Regions from separate parts of the Homo sapiens genome. Here all the other regions are linked to region 2. The links are contacts of gene promoters, found by promoter capture Hi-C in blood cells and fetal thymus (Javierre and others, 2016). All regions are on one chromosome and are shown on one strand. Each heading gives the region's core, a stretch centred on a gene start or on the middle of the fragment in contact. The rest is flanking DNA. Distances are from core to core; before and after follow the strand shown. Region 1 holds the start of NIPAL3 (NIPA like domain containing 3). Region 2 holds the start of IL22RA1 (interleukin 22 receptor subunit alpha 1). Region 3 overlaps NCMAP (non-compact myelin associated protein). Region 4 overlaps RCAN3 (RCAN family member 3).

Region 1 (6,038 bases), core at 1,146-3,645, 270 kb after region 2:
TGTATACTGTTACTTTAGATAGAATTTTTTTGGATGTCCTGAGTAGTTTCGTCTGTAGGCGATTTTTATCTACTCAGTTATAAGCATCTTGGAAGCAGCTTACATTTTTTCAAAGCACTCTCAGGTAAATAACCCATTCGATAGTCTTCATAGGCTGAGAAAGTGTATCAGGGAGCTGGAAGGAAATTTAGCGGCGGGCTAGTGACCACCAGGTTCCAATCTCACCCTTTTATTTTACAGATGGGTAAATCGAGGCCCAGAGCAGGGAAGTCGTTTGCTGGGGGACACCCCCTGAGCTGGGGTGAACCTATGAGTAGAGATCAGGTCTTTGGCGTCCACCCACTGCCAGGCACTGAAGCCTCCCAACTTTTGCGCACTCGCGGAGCCTGAGCCAGAAGGGTCGGACGCCCACGCCCCTGGCAGGAGCTCGGTGGAGCAGGCAAGCCCCAGTTGTCACCACTTTTCGGGTGGAAACACCGAGGACACGCCCCGACGCAGGGGCAACTCCCATGGTGGCTTCTTCCCGCCCTCGGGGCTCCACCTAGCTCAGCCCTGGAATTCCGCAAGCACCCGGAGGCCGGGGGGTCTCCGCGGGCGTCCCATGCGGAGGACATGGTGCGCCGTGTCCTCTTCCCCACGACCTCAGGGACCGGTCCCCCCGCCGGAACTGCTTCCTACCTGGTCCGGTCCCGGCAGCTGAATCTGGCCAGCCCAACCTCCCGGTCGCTATGGCACCCACAGGCCTAACATTCGCGAGTCCACCTTCCGCCGTCCGCGAGGTAACTCCAGCCAATGGCATCCTCTGTTTCTTTAACGTGAAAAGTTGTTGACCAATCATTAGAGGCGTTTCAAAGTCCGCAGAGAAGCCGGCCGAATTTTAGGGCTTAGGTTAATTACATCAGGGCCTGTAGCGGGGTGGGGAACTAATAAGAGGTTTATCTAGGCCATGCTTCAAAAATCTTGTGATAAACCAAAAGCCTCAGAATTTTGCTCACTCAAAAATCCTGCTTCAAGGAATATACCTAAAAGAATTAACATTCATCCAAGCCCTGTTTCTTTTTTTTTTGAGACAGAGTCTCGCTTTGTCGAGCAGGCTGTAGTGCAGTGGCGCAATCTTGGCTCACTGCAACCTCCGCCCTCCAGGTTCAAGCGATGCTCCTGCTTCAGCCTCCTGAGTAGCTGGGATTACCGGCGCTCGCCACCACGCCAGGCTATTCTTTTTGTATTTTTAGTAGAGACAGGGTTTCACCACGTTGGCCAGGCTGGTCTCGAACTCCTGACCTCAGGTGATCCACCCGCCTCGGCCTCCCAAAGTGTTGGGATTACAGGCGTGAGCCACCACGCCCGGCCCCAAGCCCTGTTTCTAACAGAAGAAAAAAAAAAAAATTGACATGGGCGACTATACAAGGGCAGCCACTTAGTATTCCAGGAGCCCCTCTTCACACGCTTCAGGGCAGGGCGGTCTCAGCGACCTTGTCACTCCCCTGCTTAAAGTCCTCCAATGGCTCGCCTTTAAATTTAGGGTGAAATCCAAGCTTTTTTTTTTTTTTTTTTTTTTTTGACAGGGTCTTGCTCTGTCGCCCAGCTGGAGTGCAGTGGCGCGATCTCGACTCGCTGCAACCTCCGCCTCCCGAGTTCAAGCGATCCTCCCGCCTCAGCCTCCTGAGTAGCTGGGACCACGGGCGCTCGCCACCACGCCCGGCTAATTTTTAAATTTTTTTGTAGAGATGGGGTCCCACTATATTGTCCAGGCTGGTCTCAAACTCCTGGGCTTAAGTGATCCTCCTGGCCTCCCAAAGTCCTGAGATTACAGGTGTGAGCCACCGCGCCGGCCCCCAAATATGTTATTTATAAACTGTCCCTGGCCCGTCCCTCAGATCGCAGGCCCAACCACGCCCCCAGAAAAATCTCTCACCAGCCCTGCTGGCCTTCGGGCAGTTTCTACAATGCACCAACTCGTTCCTCTCCCATGTTCCCAAGGAGCTTTCTCTGCCCCACGATCTGAGACTAGAACTGCCTCTTTCTCATTGTTGATGTCTAGGCCCAAATGACATTTCTTCATACGTAAAACGGGCTTCAAGTCTCACTCATGGCTGTGACGATCTGAAAGCAAATGCGTGTATATGACAACGTGTGAGCGATGAGAAGCTTGTCATCTGTAAAACTCCATGCGCATGTTAATTATCATGGCCGTGATAATTATGTACATTATAGAAACATTAACCAAGCGCTGGGCTCGTTTCAGGACCTTCAGTATTGCTGGGAGGCTTGGTATCCGACAGGTGTTCCAGGAGGGCAGGAAAGGAGAGATATGTTTGGTCCCAAGTCTCGCGAGGGCTCTGGGGAGCGCTGGGTCTTCAAGGACGTTTTGGATTTGAATACTTGGTGAGAGCGTCGGGTAGGGGAACAGCAGGAGCAAAGCCCGGAAGGTGGCTATGAGGATAAGAAGGGAGGACACCTGGCAGGCTGCTAAAACCAGGCCCACCTGCCGGGCAGGTGGAGGCGAGCAACCACCTAAGCTCTCTGGGACAGCGGGAGAGGGGGCAGGGGAGTCGCCGCACCATTCTTCCTGTGGCCGCTAGGGGGTCCCCGCTCCAGGTGAGCGCCAAGCTCTAGCCCCAGGTCGCTCCCTTATGCTTCAAGCAAGCTTTGCAGCGCAGCCAATTGCCAGGGGCTGTCCCGCCTACTCCCCGTCCTCGCAGCCACTTGCCTGCGCGAAATGCCTGCCAACTTCTGACTGGCAGGCAGTCTGGCAAATCAAATCGCGACCTTTGAAAGCAAAACACTGCAGCATCTTGGCAGCTCTGAATTGGGAAGGGATGAAGGAGGCTGTGCCTCCGGGTTGCACGAAGAGTCCGAGTCATTTCTCAGAAGGTTTTGATAGGTGGGCCTTAGAGGAGACGCCGCCGGTGAGTAGTGATTAACACCGGGAGGAAGGGGAATTGAATTTAACCTTCGTTTTTTTCTGGAAAAAGCGAAGTCACCTAACGTCCCCTAGTGTACATACCCTTCCTTCTTACTGTCACCAGCCTCGCCAACCTGGGTCCCGTTGCCTTGGAATGTTCTTTCCAGTTTTGCATCGAGGCCAAGAGGAGCGGGGGCATGGGCTACCTTACTAAAGGTGATGCCAGGCTCTACCAAACCAGGAAGTGACATGGAGTTAACTTTGCCAGAATTTCTCCTCTTCGTGCCGAGCGGCTCGGGCTTCCTGGCGGCAGCAGATGGTGGAGTTAGCAGGTGGGATGAGGGGAGGCGTTCTTGGTCTAAGCCCGCTTCTGGAACAGAGGTGCTGTCTCCTCGAGTTGTAAGTTTCCAGCTCAGTGGGACGGGACGGAAGAATGTAACCTTCTCGTGAGCCAAAGCCGAGGAACGGGAAGCTTGGCAGGGAACTGGCGCTCACCTCCAGAAGCCAGATCGTCGGGTGGTGGGAAAGAGCGTGTTTTATTGATTTGTTCAGAAAGAGGCAAATTCGAATACAGACGCTATGAGCCACGGCTGTCTCATTTGTAAAACGTGCTCTGTGGGATTGGTGAAATCCGTCATCGAGATAAACGGGGTGGGAATGGAAGCAGAGCACCTAGTGAATTCTCATTCCTTCCTTGGGTCAGTGACCACGTGCTCTAATTGTGGGGTGGTTGACAACGCAGAGGTGACTGCTTGCCTCTCGGGCATATGTAGGTCCTGAAGAAATGCTTCGAAATCAGGAAAAGAGAGTCACCAGGTGAAAAGTATGTGTCTTATAAGGGAGTACAGCTTGCAAAGGGTTCCTCCAGGCTTTCAGTCCGGACTCCCACCCAGCTGAGGGAGAGCCTTCAATCTTTGCAGGCGATGCTTCAGAGGCCTGCGAGTTCCTGAGGCAGAGAGGGAAGCTGCTTTTTAAAAGAAAAATTAAACCACAGCAATGCCAACCACCACAAACAAAAGCAAAACCAGAAAAGCACTTGGGCAAACTACTCTGAAGGATGTTAGGAGGCCTGGGTTCCCACCACTCCCTTGATTGACATGTCGCTAAGGTCTGTTGGCTTTCTCTGACCTCCTGTGGGTGGGGCTGAGTATATCTGCTTGTTGAAGCTCTGGAGTTGTGGTTGATTAGGCCTTAGAAAGGCATTCTTGACTGCGAAGGGGCCACAGTGCACCCAGTGCTTAACCAGCCTGCATTTAGTCAGTCGGTTGGTATGTATACAAGTCACTGTCAGGCTCTGGGCTAGATCTCATTTAGTCAGTTGGTTGGTATGTATAGAAGTCACTGTCAGGCTCTGGGCTAGATCTCAGCTGGGAGCAACTGAACAGGGTATTCCGCAAACACCTCACTGGAGTTTGCGCTCCTCAACTCCATGACTGCTTCATGGTTGAATGCTTCCCGGGGCCTCTCAGAGGTAGAAAGAACCCTGAGCCACTCTTAAGGCTCTTATGATTATTACAAATGCTAAAACATTTTTACAGAAATGTAACACAATAATGCTTTTCACATGTACGTGAAAGTATAGTGAACAATTATGCTTTCCACAAGATTGCAAACACATATTCATAGGGTTTTACAGGCAGGGAAGTCTAGCTATGGGATGTGAATTACCTGATAAAGTTACCCGGTGAATGCTTACATCTCATGTCTGTATATTGGATATATAACCTCGTCTGCAGGTAGTAGCAATAATTTCATCCTGAGGCCCTCTGACAAAGTGAAACCAAGCCAAATGGTTTCTGTAGCTGTCCCTATGCTAAACCTGCATTTGTTGTATCCCAGGACTGGACATGGTGTTCCCCTTATCACATATGTATGTGCTGTCCACACCATGAACCAGAATTCCTGGGCCTAGGGCCGGATAGCAGAAGGAACTGGAAGCTACAGGATACACAGGAGGCAGCTCTCTGAAGCCTCAGGGAGTGGCAGAAATTGTTTAGCTCACAGTGAGCCCTCAGTAAATATTTGTTGGATGAATGCATGAGAGAGAAAGGAATGGACAAAATAAATAATTAAACAGGAGAGAATAAAATTAATCTTAACAGCAGCTCACATTCATGGACCATTTGCTATGCCTGCATTTTACATGTATGATTTCATCAAATTCTCATGACTGCCATGTGGAGTGGGAACATTATTATCTATATTTCACAGCTGGAGAAACTGGCTGAAAAGTTAAATGACCTGGCAAAGGTAAAACAGGTAGCACATGGCACATCAAAAGCAATTTAAAACATTTTTCTATTAAAATAAACATAGACTATGCAGTAGAATACATTTCTAAAAAATGTATAAAAAGTCCTCAAAGAAAACCCTAACACTTTTAAGCAGGGTTTTGGCCATGCCTCCTAGGACACTAGAAGTATACTTTCTCTTCTCTGTTTGGTAGCAAATTTTGAGAAGTGGCACACACCTGTAATCCTAGCACTTTGGGAGGCTGAGGCAAGTGGACTGCTTGAGCCTAAGAGTTCAAGACCAGCCTGATAACATGGCGAAACCCTGTCTCTACAAAAAAATTAGCCAGGCCTTGTGGCACGCGTCTGAGGTCCCAGCTACTTGGGAGGCTGAGGGAGGATTGCTTGAGCCCAGCTTGAGGCCATGTTTGTGCCACTGCACTCCAGCTTGGATGACAGAGTGAGATTCTGTCTCCAAAAAAAGGAAAAGTTCGGGAAGCACTGAAAATATAAGTCCGATGAAATTAGTAGGGATTCTCATCATTGCTGGGTTTATTTGAGGCCACATTATTACCCCCACTTTACAGAGGAGGCAACTGAATCTCTGAGAGGCAGAGTTACCTGGTCACACAGGTTTTCCACCTCCGAGACCAGTGTCACCTCACCTGTGTCAGGCCAATCCTCGGTAGCAGGCCAGTTCTTCTGTTTTCCATGGATGTAGCTTTTCTTCTGATTCTTTTCTTCCTAAGCTGAAACTTAAATAGTTCCCTTTTCGTGGTAGTGGAATTGTTTTTTTTTTTTTTTTGAGACCTGGAGAAGTTAGTATTCTACTTCTTGTGCTCAAGAGCTATGGAAAAAGGGAGGATTTAAGTTAGGGTGCGATGGGAGGAAGGAAGCAGAGT
Region 2 (5,537 bases), core at 819-3,318:
CTGAATTTGGGTTCTGGCCCAGCAGCTGCAAAATGTCTTCAGGCTTCCTGGAGTCCCCAGAATGGGGCCTTAGGGATGGCGCGGGGAGGGGTCTACTGCCTCTACGCAAGGTGACGGCTGTGCCGTGGAGCCTTAGGATGTAGCTGACATCTTGTTTGGATGTGAGGCTGGGTGGAATTGGGGTCAGTTCTGGAGGGAGGGGTCCTGGATTCAGGGCTGAGTCTAAAGTTGAGGAAAGGAGTCCAGTCAAGGTCAGACCTGAACAGTGGCTTCTGGTTGGGTGGTGGGTCAGGGCAGAAGGGTGAGGGTGGGCTTTGAGAAGCCAGGCTCCATCAAGGCTTGGGGTAGAGTCTGCAGCGGGAACGGTTGCTGGTTGAGGTCAGTGTTCTGGGTGGGAAATAGAGGGCCCATCTGGGTTGCAAGGAGGCTGGTGGCTGAGGTGGGGGCATGTTGCCAAGGCAAAGGACCCTGGGCTACGTGGAGGTTGGCACCACTTTTCAGGAGGGAACTGCAGTTAGCTTCCTGAAGTGGGGTAAGTGAACCTAGGCCCACTCCTGTCTTTTAGGGATGTCAGGGTCTAACAAGATCTCCCCCTCTTCTCCCACCCTCCTCGCTCCTTTTCCTCCTCAAATCTATCATCCATTCCTCAGCCTGTGTTGCTTCGGCACTTCCCGGGTGAAAGTCTATATTGTGAAATCTGGGGAGACATGTGTTGTGTGGAGCCTGGCAGCCTGGCGGATTTATAAAAGGCAACTTGTTTTTTCACATTCATGTGGAAAAACAATGTTCTGTCAACCAGCTGGGAAGCTAAGGAAAAATACACAAACAAGAAACAATTCCACATGCTCTGGAGTCAGCCTAAGATTGGGGGGGTGAGGGCCCGGTGTGTGCAGCGCGAGGCAGCTGACCCTTGACAATCTCCTAAGGGCTATTTCTTGGGGTCCCCCATCTCAAAGGGCTGGGAGCCTCTAGGATTTCTAACCAGTATGGCTGAGGGTCTAAAGGGACGTGTCTTGGTGCCTCAAGGGGGTGCCTCACATCTTCCTGGAACGCCCAGCTTGATGCTGGGAAGCAGACTGGAGGGGGTCCCACAGAGCTGGAAGCCCTGGAGACGCAGGCAGCCCTGGCGGGACAGTGGCAGAGAAGGTGGGAAGCTCTGCCTTTTCGTGGGCCTCGTCCTGCACTTGAGCAAGGAGGGCCTGGCCGAGGCCATACCTGCTCGCCATCCTCAATCAGGACTATGCTTTGACTTCCTAAGGAAGTTCCCTGAATTTCATGCAATGCACCAGGAGAGCAGAGAGAGAGTCTAGGGTCTCATGTAACGTTCTCCATAATGATGAGCCCCCCACTCCGCTCACTTTATTGGCTTTGAACACTATGCCCTTAAGACCTGTTTCCAAATGAGTCCTGTGTCTTAAGACCTATTAATGTAGCAGACCTGGCCACTCTAGGAGAAAATGCTCTTTCAGATCTATGATAACAAAAGGGGCCAAAGAGGCCCTGCAGGGGCATGGAGGGAGGCAATAGTGAACTCAAGCTTCGTTTCCCCCGGTCCTTCCTCCTCCTCCCCTGTCAGGCCAGTGCCAAGTGAGAGGCAGAGGAAGGATGGTACAAACTGTGCCGACACCGTTTGAGGGACCGAAGGATGTCTGCCTCCTCCAGGCCAATTCTCCATTCACTGAGGTGCAGCGATCCAGCACCCCCAGTTCAGACAGCTGGCTATATCCCTCAAGACCCGAGGGTCCTTTGGGTCCCTGGAAGAACCCAGGGTCTGAGGCACCCTCTCATGCCCCCAGCAAACTAAGCTGGGCATTTGCTTCTCCGTGAACACCCGGCACCCTGCTCAGCCCTAGCAGGGGAGAAACTGAAACTGGCTATGCTCGGGCTGGGGAGGGTGCTGGGGAGATGACCCTGATCGTTGGCCCCTGGGATAAGGGAGGTCTGACCACAGGGTAGATGGGCACTCACCAGCCAGGGATCCCACAGTCAAGATGGTCAGCAGCGTCCTCATCGGGGCTGGCACAGAGCCCTCCCTTGGCCTCTACTCTGCCGTGCACAGAGAGAGGGCTGGGAGTCTTGGCGCCCTGGCAGCTGGCTCCACCCGGGCATGGGGCGGGGAGAAGGGGGTGGGTGGGACCTGTGCCGGTGGGGAGCAGGGGTACAAAGGTGTCCTGGCCCTGTGTGCTCTGGAATTCCAGGTTCTGGGCGGGATCTAAGGGAGTTCCCTTCCGACTTGCAGAAAACAGCAATAGTAACAGGCTGGCTTGTTTATCTGGTCCGGTGGCTGATTCATCCCAAGTGGTTTATCAAGGAGCTGAGGGGCAGAAAAGGCAAGAATAATCCACGATATGCAGCCTTATCAAAAAGCAATTTGGCACTGTGGATCAAAAGCCTACACCACATACATATCTTTTGCTTTAATAATTCTATTCCTAGGGGATTTACCCTGATGAAAATAACTGGACAACAGAGGGGGAAAAAAAAGGTCCCAGAATGTTTCTTGCAGCAAAGGAAAAGCTGTGACTCCTTTGCTTTTCTGGCAGGAGGAGATTGAGGGCACCCGATGCTCCTCCTTGATCCTCCATATCAAGGCAGGTCCCCACGCTTGGGGTGGGCTTGGGAACAGCTCTCCCCTAGAGAGGCCGTTGGGGGTGAGGAAGCCCAGCCGCTCTTACCTTGAGCCTTTGGGTCTAGGATCTGCAAAAGTTTAGAAAAAAAATGGAACTCAAACTTCAGTGATTCTTTCTGCTGTGCTAGAGATGGGGCTGAACTTCATGAATGGGGCTTTGGTTCGGGACGATGAAGATTCAGGCTGCTCTCCCATCATTTTGCCACGTAGGGCAGGATCTGCACATGAGCTTCGTGTGAATGAAGGGACAGGTGTTTAGGAAATGGTTTTCTCCTTCCTGCAGGGCCTGGAGAAGGTAGAAGGGCCCTGGGGCCTGGACTCTGGTCAGGGTGGACACGATTGGAGGGTCCTGCCCCTGGGGAGAGTTTGCCTGGCCCCAAGCACACAAAGGCAAGCGAAATTTTAGCAGGGATCCTGCCAACGGGTTGGGTGTAATGGGCTGTGATATGCTGAGATCGGTGTTTAAGTTTTTCTTTCCTGAATTGTAATTGTTATCAGCCCTGATTGCTAAAGTTTGTTTGACAAAACAGCCAAATCTAAGCTGTGCTTTGGAGGAATTAAGGTAGGGCCCATGCCAGTCATTTCCTGAAACTGCAGGAAACTACATTTTCTAGACTCCTTTATCAACTGCTTTCTGATAGGTTTAGCCCCTGGGGGAAGACTGGGGAGGCAGAGATCAGAGCATTTCTCCCCTCGTTTTCTGTTTGAGTGGCTTCCCCAGCAATGGCCATATCCCTCTGCAGTTCTGGCTCCCTCTGGACAGTCCATCAGCCAGGCAACCCCTTATGTCTTTCTTGTTCCTGTTTGGAGGCCAGCTCCTGGCTCTGGCAACACCTTCTCCCCTCATCTTTCCTTTCAGTTGGTGGGATGGCACAGCTTCCTGCTTTGGGGAAATCTCTGAACTGTCTGTCCTGATTAGTGTCCCAGCTCCTTCATCCTCTGGGTGACGAGCTCCTTTACATTAAAGTCCCTTGGTCTGAAAGACTGGAGAGGTTTCTGTGCTACTGAATGAACCATGATGGATAGAGGGTTTTTGATGACTTTGATGACAAGGCAGTGTGGGGAAGCTACAGCGAGAAAAACAGGTTACAAGGGACGCTTAGGGAGAAGAGCAGGCTTTGGTCCCAAGTGGCTGGCCGAGAGGACAAGACGCAGCCCCAACAGGTCTGTGGAACACGAAAGTGTTCCTTGGGGCCTCTCAGAAGCACTGGAAGAAGGAACTTGATGGAGGAAAAGGGCATCCTGTAGTTTCGAGGGCCTGTGGTTATGTAGGAATTAACGGGAAGGAAGACACCTGGATTGCTAAGGAATGTGGGAACACCCAGACTTCATTTCTAACAGTTTAAGAAAAAAATAGGTGGGGCGTGGTGGCTCATGCCTGTAATCTCGCACTTTGGGAGGCCAAGGTGGGCAGATCACCTGAGATCAGGAGTTCGAGACCAGCCTGGGCAGCATGGCGAAACCCTGTCTCTACTAAAAATACAAAAATTAGCCGGACATGGTGGCGGGCACCTGTAATCCCAGCTGCTCGGGAGGCTGAAGCAGGAGAATTGCTTGAGCCCAGGATGTGGAAGTTGCAGTGAACCGAGACCGCACCATTGCACTCCTGCCTGGGCGACAGAGCGAGACTCCGTCTCAAAAAAAAAAAAAAAAAAAAAAAAAAGGAGAAAAAAATGAAAACAACCTCCATGTCTGACAATAGAGGTTTGGTTAAAAGAATAATGGTATGTCCACCCAAAGCAAGACAAATGCAGCTTCCAAAATAATGCTGGAGAAAAATGTTTCGTGACCTGGTAAAGACTCATCATATTTTTTCAAGTGAAAAGAGGCATAACATAACCTATGTACAGTACCACCCTGGCTAAAACGCACACCTGCACACGCAGAGCAAACTGCGTGTCTTCATGGATATAGATGAAAACACTAGGGGCGTTATCTCTGGGTGGTAGTGGAATTGTAGGTGATTTTTCTTTTCTTCCCTTTGCTTATCTGCATTTCCTAAAGTTAATATAGGAAATACACTAATTTATATTAAGGGAAAGCAAGGTTACTAAACATAACAAATCGGCATTAAAGACAAGCCTTTGTTGGGGCTCTATCCTCCTCCTGGAATGCCATTTCCACTCCCTTAGCCAATTCCCTTTTCCTCGAATCTCACCAAGACAGTTTTCTTCTGCGATATGGCCCTTCTTGATAACTCCAGCCCATAACATCTCACTTTGAAAGTCCTTCCAGAGGCCAGGCACCGTGGCTCATGCCTGTAATCCCGGCATTTTGGAAGGCCAAGGAGGGAGTATCGCTTGAGTCCAGGAGTTTAAAGCCAGCCTGGGCAACATAGTGAGACACTGTCTCTATAAATAATAAAAAATTAGCCAGGTGTGGTGGCACATGCCTGTAGTCCCAGCTACTTGGGAGCCTGAGGCAGGGAATTGCTTGAGCCCAGGAGATCAAGGCTGCGGTGAGCCATGACTGCACCACAGCACTCAGCCTGGGCAACAGAGTGACACCTTGTCTCAAAAAACAAACGAACTTAAAAACAAAGTCCTTCCAGAATATGTGGTCTGGCCTGCATTTTGGCATTGTCCACTATGATACTTCAGCTGTGTTACATGTTCAAGAATGGAAAGGAGGCCAGGCGCCATGGCTCATGCCTGTAATTCCAGTACTTTGGGAGGCTGAGATGGGCTGATCACTTGAGGCCAAGAGTTCGAGACCAGCCTGGCCAACATGGTGAAACCTTGTCTCTACTAAAAATACAAAAATTAGCCAGGCATGATGATGCACACCTGTAGTCCCATCTTCTCGGGAGGCTGAGGCAGGAGAATCAGGAAGAATGAGGGAGAATCAGGAAGAATGAGGAAGAATCTGGAAGAATGAGGCAGGAGAAGCAGGGAGTCTAGGGTCCCTA
Region 3 (5,598 bases), core at 174-2,673, 450 kb after region 2:
GTTCACATCACCACACCTGGCCTTAGGGTCAATTTTCTGACCATTAAAACATCCCAATATCTCCAGGAGCTGCTTGGGAGTAGTGAGCCACTTGTCTGTGGAGGAGATCAAGTCCTGCTGAATCTCCCATCCCTCAGGAGATTGGGAGAAATCAATCCCAATGTTTTGGTGGGTCGAGGGCTTTCGTGGGTTACCTGCTCTGAGTTACAGGTGGTCAATTGAGGAGAGGTCTGCCGGGGTTGGTAGTCTCTCTATTGTCTTATCCAGGGAGGAACTTGTAAGCCAGGCCAGAGGGAGAGGGGGTACCCCTAGGGCAGAGCTTCAGGGGAGATATTTTGGACAGGTGGGAGTCTGACAGCGTTTATCTTCCACATTCAGCTCTTAGACTTGGCCAAGAGCTAGTCAGAGAAGGATGGATCCGTGAATAAATGGTTATGACCTGCCATCACTTCCCAAACTCGCCTCCCACACAGGCCTTTGTAAACAACCCAAGAAAACAACAGTCCCTTGTAGATTCTGTAAATGTGATCGAGGCTCTGCTGAACACAGAGGCTCAGAGTGTGGCCAAGGGCAGGAGTAGTTGGGTAGGAGTCAGGGTCAGGGTCATAGGCCTGGGGCAAGGGCCCTCGTCTGTCTGCTGAACCCTGGCCTGTGTGGGTTTTTTCATCAAAGCCCCACATTGATTTGGGCCCTGGATGCTGGGCCACCTGTGCTTTGTGGATTTGCTGGGAGGGTTTTTGAAGAAGGGGCTGTGAAATCGGATAGACCCTGGTTTGAATCCTGGCATGGTTGGCATAGTTTTCATATTAGCCTTGTGAAGTTAAGGCAGTTTCTTCTCTGCTCCAAGCCTCAGATTCCTCATCTTCAGAATGGACAAAGTGCCTGTGCCCTCCTTACAGGACTGGTATGAAGATTAAGTGAGATCTCCAACATAAAGCACCGAGTGCGGTGCCGGACACATAGCGCATTATTATTATTATTAAATTAACCTCTGTCAGTGAAGACTGGCCTCCCTCTCCCTGTCCTCTTTGTGTTTTCTATGGTCATGGCCCCTGGTCTTAGGGACGTTTGATACTGAAGTGCTCCTGCTGGCCCTCACTTGGTTAACAACTGTTGCTGGGGCCCCACACATGAAAACACCCACATGCTTGGCCATGGCTGTGCTACCACCCTCCCTCCCACCTTCTCTGATGCAGCAGGGACAGAGATGCAATTGAGAGCCCTCAGTCCCGAGATGAGGCAAGATATGCTCTGAGATTCCTCACTGTTCTCTGAGAGAGAAGAGCTACTGGGCCCATCCAAAAGACAGTCTGCACCTGGAACTCGGCACCCAGGAGGTCACCCCTGCAGGACCTGTAGAGGAGCCTGTGTCCTGGTGGCCTTAGGTGGCTGCATTACTGGTCAGTGTGTGTATGTGTGTGCATGTGTGTGCCTCCATGTATTCCTGCAGTGACTGGTCATAGACCCCACCAGTGTGTGTCAGGGACAGGGTGGTGTGGTAGGAAGGATGCAGACGTTGCCACATGCAACACCCAGGTTCACAAACCAGCTCTGTAGCTTTGGGGCTACGTAAGTGTGGATAGTTAGCTTTATGTTTTTATTTTTATTTTTATTTTGAGACAGAGTCTTGTTCTGTCACCCAGGCTGGAGCGCAATGGTGAGATCTCAGCTCACTGCAACCTCTGCCTCCCGGGTTCAAGCAATTCTCCTGCCTCAGCCTCCCTCAAGAGTAGCTGGGATTACAGGCAACTGCCATCACACCTGGCTAATTTTCCATGTTGGCCAGGCTGGTGTCAAACTCCTGACTTCAAGTGATCCACCCGCCTTGGCCTCCCAAAGTGCTGGGATTACAGGTGTGAGCCACTGCACCCGGCTGAGAGTTGGCTTTATATTATCAAGTCTCAGGGTCTTCATTTGAGAGAAGGGGAAAGGAAAACTTATCTTACATGGCATTTTGCTAGTTGAATCAGGGCATGGATAGAAAATATCTGTCACAAGGTCTTGGCACACGGCAAACACTCAAATGGTGGCTTCTGTCATTTTTGTGCGTGTTGGTATCACGGTGAATATGTCCATGGGTTTGGGTTGGCCAATGATTGTTCCATGTCTCTCTCACTAAGCAAACCTTGATCCGCAGCCACCTATTTGTATCTCTTTTCTGTATTTAAAAGGAATTGTATGAAAGCCTCACTGGTGAGTCTTCTTAGCTTGATGTTGGTGAGGCTAGAAGGAGAAGGTTTAGGGAAATGCATGCTAATACCCTTCACGTACTGAGGCAGGGCCGGCATCTCCCCTTGAGAGTAGAGGTGGGCAGTGCTGGGTGGGAAAGGCTTTCATTCCAAATTCTCATACTTGTCTGTGCTTTTAAAATTTTATTATATTTATTTAGTTTTAGAGACAAGGTCTTGCTCTGTCACCCAAGCTGGAATGCAATGGTGCCATCATGGCTCACTGTAGTTTGTGCCATCAAACTCCTGGGCTCAAGTGATCCTCCTTCCTCAGCCTCCCAAGTAGTGGGGACTACAGGCACACACCACCACCAGGCTGGCTAATTTGTGCTTATTTTTATAGAAAGAATGTCTCCTAGTTTTCAGCTCCAGATTTCCCTGTCTCTAAGTTAGTTCAGCAAATATTTACTAATATTCACTATAATACTTAGAGCTGCCATTTAGTGAACACTGAAAAACACTTTCCATACCCCACTTCTCACTCTCAGCTCCCTTAGGGAAAGGGAGAGGCAGTTCGTTTTACAGATGAGCAAATGAAGCTGGGAGAAATTCAGTTACTCATTCCAGCCCTTGCACGGCGAAGGAGAGAAGACCCAGACACTTTATCTGAGGAAGGTAAAAGGATATGAGAAAGAACAAGAAATAGTCTCCATCCTCAAGGACCTGACAATGAAATGTAGCATTAATGGCAGACAAAGCAGTGGACACATGCCTTGGTGATGTTTCTTTGCAGGGAGCTGCTGTGGGAGGGTAGGGGACAGAATCTCTATTTCAGTATGAGTAGGAGTCTTCCTTGGGGGGCGACTGGGGACTGGGCTGTGTCTTTTTTTTGAGATGGACTCTCACTCTGTCACCCAGGCTGGAGTGCAGTGGCGCAATCTTGGCTCACTACAACCTCCACCTCCTGGAGGTTTAAGCGATTCTTCTGCCTCAGCCTCCCAAGTAGCTGGGACTATAGGCGTGCACCACCACAAGCGGCTAGTTTTTGTATTTTTAGTAGAGATGTGGTTTCACCATGTTGGCCAGGGTGGCCTCAAACTTCTGACCTCAAGTAATCTGCCCACCTCAGCCTCCCAAAGTGCTGGGATTACAGGCATGAGTCACCGTGCCTGGCCTGGGCCGTGTCTTGAAGGCTACGCTCTTTTTCTTGGGGAGCAATAGGGCATGGCTAGCCTGGGCCTGTTTCAGGTGTTGGGAGACAGGAAGCCCAGGCAGGGAGACAGAGTGGCAGGAGTGGGGAGGTCAGGCAGAGCCACACGGGGTTCCTGGTGGGAGCTTGAGTCTGGGAGTCCGGAGGGTCTGGTCTTTGGAAGGAGGGGTAGACAAGAGCTAGGGAGGGTTAGGCAGGGCCCCGGATTAAGGGAGCACAGAGAAGGGAGAGGCAGAGCCCACCTTATAGATTAACAGGGCCAGGCCACAGAGGCCATTCTGACCCTGTGAAGCCCCCGGGGCAGGCCACTGCCACCAGAGCCCTGAGCTGGAATGCAGATGGCCTGACCCTAGTGGGTGTGTTTCAAGGTGGGTGCTGACCCCTGCTTCCATCAGAGCTGGGAGAGCAGGAAAGCCGCAGCCCATAGATAAGGACTCTCTGGAGAGACCTTGGGCAGGGACTGGGGAGGCCAATGCCTGGGGCAGCCAGCCCAGAGGCAGCAAAGACCAAATATGATGGGGGAAGAGGGAGTGCCCTGCTGTCACAGCAGTTTGGCAGAGGGTGGTGTGAGTAGCTGAGACGCTGGAAACAGAGGGTAGAACCAGCGAGTGAAGGGCTTTCACTACTGGATATTGCAGTGTCGACAGGGGGAAATGATTGTTTTTTGAGCCCCAGAATCATATGATCAAACCTATAGTCTGTCGTGCTCACTAGAACATGAGCTTCCCAAGGCAAGGAGTTCGTCTAGTATTCCCTGTGTACTCCCAGCACTGAGCCCAGCATCAGTCACTTAGTAGGTGCCACGTTGATATTTAATAGATGTGTTTCATAGATATGTACAGCCACAATATATACAATGTTTATGGATATATATAATATATATGTTATGTAGTAAACATTTTAAAACTTTGATAAGAATACACACTAATGGTCAAGGGAGTGGTTACTTTGGGGAAGAGAGGAAATAGGATTGAGATAGAATACAAAAGGGATTTCAGCTATGTCTGATTTTTTTTCTTATAAAGAAGAACTGGGACCAGGCGCAGTGGCTCACACCTGTAATCCCAGCATTTTGGGAGGCCAAGGCAGGTGGATCATGAGGTCAGGAGATCGAGACCATCTTGGCTAACACAGTGAAACCCCGTCTCTATTAAAAATACAAAAAAATTAGCCGGGAGTGGTGGCGGGCGCCTGTAGTCCCAGCTACTCGTGAGGCTGAGGCAGGAGAATGGCGTGAACCCGGGAGGCGGAGCTTGCAGTGAGCCGTGATCATGCCACTGCACTCCAGCCTGGGCAACAGAGCAAGGTGGCTCACGCCTGTAATCCCAGCACTTTGGGAAGCTGAGGCTGGTGGATCACTTGAGGTCAGGAGTTTGAGACTAGCCTTGGCCAACGTGGTGAAACCCCATACTACTAAAAATACAAAATATCTGGATGTGGTCGTGGGCCCTTGTAATCCCAGCTACGTGGGAGGCTGAGGCAGGAGAATCACTTGAACCCAGGAGACAGAGGTTGCAGTGAGCCGAGATTGTGCCACTGCACTCCAGCCTGGGTGACAGAGTAAGACTCTACCTCAAAAGAAAAAAAAAAAAAGAACTGGGCTGGGCATAGGGGATCATGCTTGTAATCCCAGCACTTTGGGAGACCAAGGTGGGAGGATCGCTTTGAGTCCAGGAGTTTGAGACCAGTCTGGGCAACATAATGACATCTAGCCTCTATAAAAAAAAAAGAGTTTTTTTAATTAGCCAGGCATGGTGGTGAATGCCTGTAGTCCCAGCTATTCAGGAGGCTGAAGTGGGAGGATTACTTGAGCCTGGGAGGTTGAGGCTGCAGTGAGCTATGATTACATCACTGCACTCCAGCTGGGGCAACAGAGTGAGACTCCATCTCAAATAAATAAATAAATAGAAAAACTGAAGAAAACATGACTGTAAACATTTGCTAAATGTGAATGGTCAGTACGTGGGCTCCTGTAATATTTGTCTTCATAATTTAAAAAACATTTCTTACTTTTAAAAAGAAAATAAATTTATACACCATTTTTTAAAATGTCCAGAATCTCTCTTTCTCCAGTAGATGGCTGTGTTGAGGCCTATGGCTTCTTAAGATTACAAACAAGCCTAGGCAATTCTCTCAATGTAGACCCTTCGTGGGCTTCCAAATTGTCAGCAGCTGGAGTAAAAGTGCCACTCGGAAATAATGAAGCCAAGCTTGGCTTGC
Region 4 (6,465 bases), core at 467-2,966, 390 kb after region 2:
CACCAGTTTTTATCCTTCACCTTTTCCAGTATCTTGTTAACCACTAGTTCTTGAGTTTTTTGGCTATGATGTGTACGTTTATGTATGTCATTCATGGACTTTCAACTAGAAAAGGTAATGATAAGGTTTTCTGAAGACCATTTGTAAATTGTCCATTTAACCATTTTTCAGCTTGCTTTGAAACAAAAGTCACACCTACTATTTTTCTATGAATTAGGGAATGAGGGGGAGATCATTCAGTTTTACTTTTCTTTTTGTTGAAATTTTGTACCCGGATTGCAGTTGGCACTTTTCCTAAAACAGAATTGTTTCCCACTTAGGTGTCAGAATGTACCTTTGAACTTCCCTAAGAAGCAGCAGGATCTTTTTAACTCTCTCTGGTCTGTTTAGACTTTGAAGTCCCTTCTGTAGAAAAGTCTCATAACTGAGAAGGCTCTGTTTTGGGCCGGGTGGGTCTGCTGGCCTCCACTCACTGTGCTGTTTCCTTTGAGTGGCACACTTGGGAAGCTCCGGGGCATGTGAAGGAGCTGCAAACATGAGAACTAATGAACCAAGGCGGCTGCCACCAGGAAGGAACAGAACGCAGGCATTCAACCATGACGTCTGCACAGTGTTAGTAACATGTCATTGTGGTTTCGTTCTCACTGTGGTAAAATTTATTTCTGAGCACTTAAACTGTGTTGCATACCCCTAATTTTTTTTTTTTCTGTATCTTCCTTGCCCTCAAATACCCTGAGGTGATAAACTGTTCCAGTTGTAGCCAACTACCACTGCTAGGCCTCAATGTAAATTCAGTTGAAATTTGCAATTCTATCAGCAATTTAATGTATTGAATTCAGATCATCATTTGTCATTTTAACCGACAACCACCCAATAAATTTACTCTGCAGTTCTGAACTCAGCATTGTGCCCATTTTTTACTGCAAGATGGACCCTGTATGCCAGGAGACATGTATTATCAACAATTGGGAATTTTTTGAATTTCCTTTTAGGTAATATTGATTCACTGTAATTTTCTAAGTGATCAAAACCCATGAGATTTTGTTATTTGGCTTGGCTTTCATTCTCTGCCTGCCCATTAAAGAATATTCTATTCCTAACACATAAAACATTTTACAGTCAAGCAGTGCAAATTACAGTGCTTTTCTATTTTTTTTTTGAGAGCCTTGAATAAATTGAAGAAAACTTTAAACCAAAATTAGAGACGAGTCATTTAAGCTTTTCTGAATGGAAAGTATTAATATTTTCATTTTTCTAGTATAATATAATAAAATGAATTTTTTTAAAAAAGCTACTAAGTACCCATCAACTTTTTCATATTGTGAAATGAACCAGGATCTTAACAGATACTATCATCGCTGTCCTTTTTTGGCTGTTTAATATCTAGTTCATGTAACAAATTTACAAGAGATAAGTCTCATGGTTTTTTTTTTCTTTTAATAGGCTTTTCTGCAATTTTTTTGAAATTGAGTTATTACTTGGATTTAACCCTGATAGGACCAGGTGTGGTGGCTCACACCATAATCCCAGCACTTTGGGAGGCCAAGGTGGGTGGATCCACCTGAGGTCAGGAGTTCAAGACCAGCCTGACCAACATGGTGAAATCCTGTCTCTACTTAAAAAATACAAAATTAGCCTGGCATGGTGGCACATGCCTGTAATCCCAGCTACTTGGGAGGCTGAGGCAGGAGAATTTCCTGAACCGGGAGACGGAGGTTGCGGTGAGCCGAGATCACGCCATCGCACTCCAGCCTCGGCAACAAGAGCGAAACTCCGTCTCAAAAAAAAAAGATTTAACCCTGATTGATAGTATAGTAGCCATGTTTTCTTTAGAAATCATAACCTCTTCATGGGAATCAAACTATGTTGAAAATTGTGAGGAAAGATAATGGTGCTTTGTGTTGGGAAAAAAACATTTGTGAAGGATTAGAAAACCGTAACACTTAACAAGGATAGTCACAGAACCGACGCTGCATTGGCTCTTAGGTTCTAGATTTTTGTAGCACACTCACCTGATGAAACCAAAGACAAATCCATGTAAAAAGTGTTCCAGTGAGCATCTCTGAGGTTTAAGGTACTAAGAGGCAGAAGTGGATAGCAACAGTTCCATTGCCTTCGAGAACTAAAACTCAGCTGGAAAGCAAATTAGTCTTTTCACATTCTGCTTCTTCAAAATGTTGTACTCAAAAACATACCAGTAATTAAGAGCCAAAGCAAAGCTTCAAGGAACTTTTAAGTTCAACATAAAGGTTTAAATAAAATATTTTTTATTTTTTATTTTTATTTATTTATTTATTTATTTTGAGACAGAGTCTCACTCTGTCGCCCAGGCTGGAGCGCAGCCGCGTGATCTCGGCTCACTGCAAGCTCCGCCTCCCGGGTTCACGCCATTCTCCTGCCTCAGCCTCCCAAGTAGCTGGGACTACAGGCGCCCGCTCCCACGCCCGGCTAATTTTTTTTTTTTTTTTTTTTATAAGTAGAGACGGGGTTTCACCACGTTAGCCAGGATGGTCTCGATCTCCTGACCTAGTGATCCGCCTGCCTTGGCCTCCCAAAGTGCTGGGATTAACCAGGCGTGAGCCACTGCGCCCGGCCTTAAATAAAATATTGTAGTCATTAATGGTGTGTTTGAATTGAAGAGATACCAGGAGATAGAGGTGAAGTGCAGTACTTTTATTCTTTAAGAATATAGTCTTTAGCCAGGTGCAGTGGTGTGTGCCTGTAGTCTCAGCTATTTGAGAGGCTGAGGTGAGAGGATCACTTGAGTTCAGGAGTTCAAGACCAGCCTGGGCAACATAGCAAGTCCCTGGCTCAAAAAAAAAAAAGTTTCCCATTCATATTAACTCCATCTTTTAAAAATGTCATGATTACAAAGTGAAAAGATTTGGCTTTCTTAGAGGCTCAATCACAGAGGTGAAAGTGACCTTGGAAATCATATACTCTATCCCCATGTTACACAGATTAGAAAAACTGAGGTTATGGCACTGACTTAGGCACCCCCAGCAAGGCAACCCAGGGACTACAACTGGCAATCCCAACTCCTGGGCTAGGGCTTTTTCTACCTTTTTTTGCATTGGCCTCTTAAAGAGGCAATGAATACTAATTCCTGGCATCAGAAAAAAAAAAAGGCATGAGGTGGGAGGATTCTTTTTTCCCTGATGGGAAACAGTGAATAAGAAAAATCTCATCATTCGATGGAAGAGGTGACTTAATAATTTTATTAATGAATTTGATGTCCCATGTTTTGTAGTTTTGTTATCATTGAACCATTGGGGCTGGAATCTGCCTAAATAATTTTATCTTGGTAGCCAGCAATTATGTTGGTATTTTATGTGGGCCTTCCCAGATTTTCATATTAATGAAATGACTAATAGTCGTACTTAAGAGGTAACTCTACTAAAGCAGAATGAGATCTAATATGTTGTGGAAATAAAAGAGTTTGCAGTGGAATGATACTCTCACTCCGTGCTTGTAAAATTGAGTTCTATTCAAGACGGAACTGCTATGACTGGCCTATTCAAGGCTTCATATTTTTATACAGACTATTTCACAGACCATAGATTTATTTTAAAAGGGAAAATCTCACACATAATTAAGCAGTGGAAAATGTGCTCAATGCTATGGTGCGTCAGGCCCTCTGTCTACCAGGTTTCTCCCCTTTCTGCAGAGCTGTGGACCCTGTACGTACCAAACAGGTGAACTTGGTCCATCTTTCCTTCTTCCTTTTTTTGCACATTTGCATTTATATCTTCCTGTACTAAAAGAAACAAATTATTTATAATTGGGGTGACAATATAAAGGAACAAAAGATGGGGCAATAGTTGCTTCCTAGCTGGAGCTGTAAGTCCATGTTACAGAAACTCACTATTTAAAAAGTTTTAAAAGATTTATGAACCTTGTCCTACAATTCGCTGAATACTTATTTGTCTTTTAAACTCCCCTCGGTGTATGGATCATCTTCGTCAGAATGCCGTTGTTTCATTGTGAATCAGGGGAAAATGTTAATCATTTGGAGACTGTTTTCTTATTACCAAATGTACAATCCATAAGACAACTGAAAGCAACAACTGCTGGGTTCACTGACAAAGATTATAAAAATCATCACGTTCAAAGTAGAGTTTTTAGCCAAGGTCAAGAACTAACCTGGGGCTGAGTCAGCGTCTCTACCCACTTAAATAACAGCGTAAAGATCTTTCACTAAATTCGTTATGTGGTCTGTCTGGATGTAAACCTATATATTTCCTTTTGAAACAGAATCATATCCTGCAGACTCTTGGCACTCCTGCATAGCTTTGACCGAATGTTCACTCTCATCGTAATGGAAGATTTCTATCTATGCAGATAATACATGTTTTTAAATACTGTTTTCTGTTTAGTCCTCAATCTTCCTAACTCAAATTGGGGACTGAGGAGAGAGAAAGGTGGTTACCCCTGTTACCGTGCCATATTCTTCTTGCTGCTTTTCAACCCCACGTGATTGTTGATTGACGGTTCTGCTATAATGTGCGTGCCCTTCAAGTTTCAGAAAACTTTCCCAATCATTTCACTTCAATCTTAATTGAACCCAAGAGTCAAAGTTATTATTTTCTCCGAACGTGTTTGTGATCTTCTGTTATATTTTGGGGCATGTTACCTTTATGGTATATAAGCTGTAGTGCATACTCTTTGTATTGCAAAAAACTGGTCAGTAATTTATGTACATGTATTCCACATTTTAGTGTGCTTGAAGTGACAATCCATAGTTTGTAGTAGTTTGTTATTTGTCAACTTTACCCTGTGTTTTAAGGACATCTAAACATTCCTTGTCCTATCAAGATGACAAAAGCAGAATGTAATTTTTTTTTGGAAGCTTCGTGATTACCTGTAACAAGTTCTGTTTTTAAAACGAATACAAATAAAGTTAGTAACTATTTTTAAATCAGTCCATTGAGTTGAGTTTTTTTGTGTGTAGTATTTTCAATACGCATCACTTACATTTAGCTAATAAGACAGAGAAGTGCAATATTGTGTTTGTTCCTTTCACAAGAGTCCTGTTGAACATTAATGCCGTGCAGTGCCAGAGTTCAAGGTGGTGAGTCACTGCTCACTCTGTAAATAACCACTGCACTTTCAGCTCTTCCCCAAGAAACCTTTTACCCTGGTTTCCCCTTTGGTTAAAAATGATTTATTCCGGGTAAAGACTTACTTTTTGTCTCGGTTAAAAAAAAAAAATCTCCAAAATGTGGAACTATAAATGACAGTAGAGGTTATCTAGTGCAGTGGGATTTCGAATACTTATTTTTAAGCCATAGGACTCTGCTCTTTGTTCAAATGAAATCTTACACAAAGCCAATGTAAAACTATTACAAAAAGGAAAGGTAAACAAAGCTGCTCCTTTTCAAGGGGCTGGGGGAAGAATGGGGACCTGAGTTCAACCCCTGTGAGAGCTCAGCAGAACAGACCCAGACACACCCCTCTATTGCCCCTGCCTCCCTCCACTTCCTCCTCCATCCCAACCCCACCCCCAACACACCTTTACAAGAAAGTGGCCCCAGAGGCATTGCCAAATGCACACATCTGGATGGTCATGGACCTGGGACTAGAACCCATTTCTTGACATTCTTTCTACCACACTCCACTACTTTGTTACACCAAAATCTAATTTTTCTGGATAAATGTATCTGGATAAAAAGGTTCTTGATATTGTTTTGTTTTTGAGACAAGGTCTTGCTCTGTCGCCTAGGCTGGAGTGCAGTGGCATGAACACAGTTCACTGCAGCCCCAACCTCCCAACTCAGTCTCCGAAGTAGCTAGGATGACAAGTGTGCACCACCACACCCGGCTAATTTTTGTATTTTCTGTGGAGACAGGGTTTCCCTATGTTGCCCAGGCTGGTCTCTAATTCCTGATCTCAGGCGGTCCACTTGCCTTGGCCTCCCAAAGTGCTGAGATTACAGGCATGAGCCACCGAACCTGGCCTTTTTTGTTTTTAAAAAACTAAAGCGGAGTCGCTGAGGACATTTCCACTTTGAAGTTTTTCCAAGCTGTGTTCTGTGGGGCTGCCTCCAGGGGGCGCCATGCTTCCAGGTTCCTGGGGCCTTTCACTCCTGCTTCAACTCTCCTATTATTTGCTATACCTAAAGGTCCTAGCATGTTTTCCACTTGAGCTAAGGATTCCTTGGCTAAAACAGAAAATTGGAAAACCACTGCAAAGAACCTAGGACAAAACACACACACAAACAAATTTTTTTTCTGAGACCAAGTTTCAATCTGTTGCCTAGGCTGGAGTGCAGTGGCGCAATCTCACCTCACTGCAGCCTCTGCCTCCCGGGTTCAAGCAATTCTCCTGCCTCAGCCTCTCGAGTAACTGGGACTGCAGGCGCACGCCATCATGCCTGGCTAATTTTTGTATTTTTAGTAGAAACAAGTTTCACCATGTTGGCCAGGCTGGTCTTGAACTCCTGACCTCAGGTGATCCATCCACCT

What was found. Contacts are between HindIII fragments. The CHiCAGO score rates a contact against its expected background, and 5 or more counts as called.
Region 1: a contact is called between a fragment that was not itself captured here and the fragment with the promoter of IL22RA1 in region 2, in 1 of 17 cell types (M0 macrophages). The highest score is 5.4, in M0 macrophages.
Region 3: a fragment that was not itself captured here is called in contact with the fragment with the promoter of IL22RA1 in region 2 in 1 of 17 cell types (total B cells); the score reaches 6.2 in total B cells.
Region 4: a contact is called between a fragment that was not itself captured here and the fragment with the promoter of IL22RA1 in region 2, in 2 of 17 cell types (M1 macrophages and endothelial precursors). The highest score is 5.3, in M1 macrophages.

Annotation. Positions count from the first base shown.
Region 1 is chr1:24,412,996-24,419,033 of GRCh38, forward strand. It overlaps NIPAL3 (NIPA like domain containing 3), which reads left to right and starts at 2,807. Exons shown (of 12, transcript NM_020448.5): 1 at 2,807-2,909. It overlaps STPG1 (sperm tail PG-rich repeat containing 1), which reads right to left and starts at 787. Exons shown (of 9, transcript NM_001199013.2): 1 at 679-787. RefSeq lists enhancers at 283-402, 5,589-6,038. The HindIII fragment of the contact is 499 bases long and covers 2,147-2,645 here.
Region 2 is chr1:24,141,072-24,146,608 of GRCh38, forward strand. IL22RA1 (interleukin 22 receptor subunit alpha 1) reads right to left here and starts at 2,069. Exons shown (of 7, transcript NM_021258.4): 1 at 1,969-2,069. The coding sequence starts at 2,011. The HindIII fragment of the contact is 5,016 bases long and covers 1,536-5,537 here.
Region 3 is chr1:24,588,225-24,593,822 of GRCh38, forward strand. All of the region lies in intron 1 of NCMAP (non-compact myelin associated protein), which reads left to right. Among named protein-coding and RNA genes, the nearest start is that of NCMAP, 35 kb to the left of the region's middle. The HindIII fragment of the contact is 8,325 bases long and covers 1-5,586 here.
Region 4 is chr1:24,536,120-24,542,584 of GRCh38, forward strand. It overlaps RCAN3 (RCAN family member 3), which reads left to right. Exons shown (of 5, transcript NM_013441.4): 5 at 1-4,921. It overlaps NCMAP-DT (NCMAP divergent transcript), which reads right to left. Exons shown (of 3, transcript NR_109781.1): 3 at 3,155-3,757. Among named protein-coding and RNA genes, the nearest start is that of NCMAP-DT, 17 kb to the right of the region's middle. RefSeq lists enhancers at 1-513, 340-429, 4,940-5,234. The HindIII fragment of the contact is 1,001 bases long and covers 1,217-2,217 here.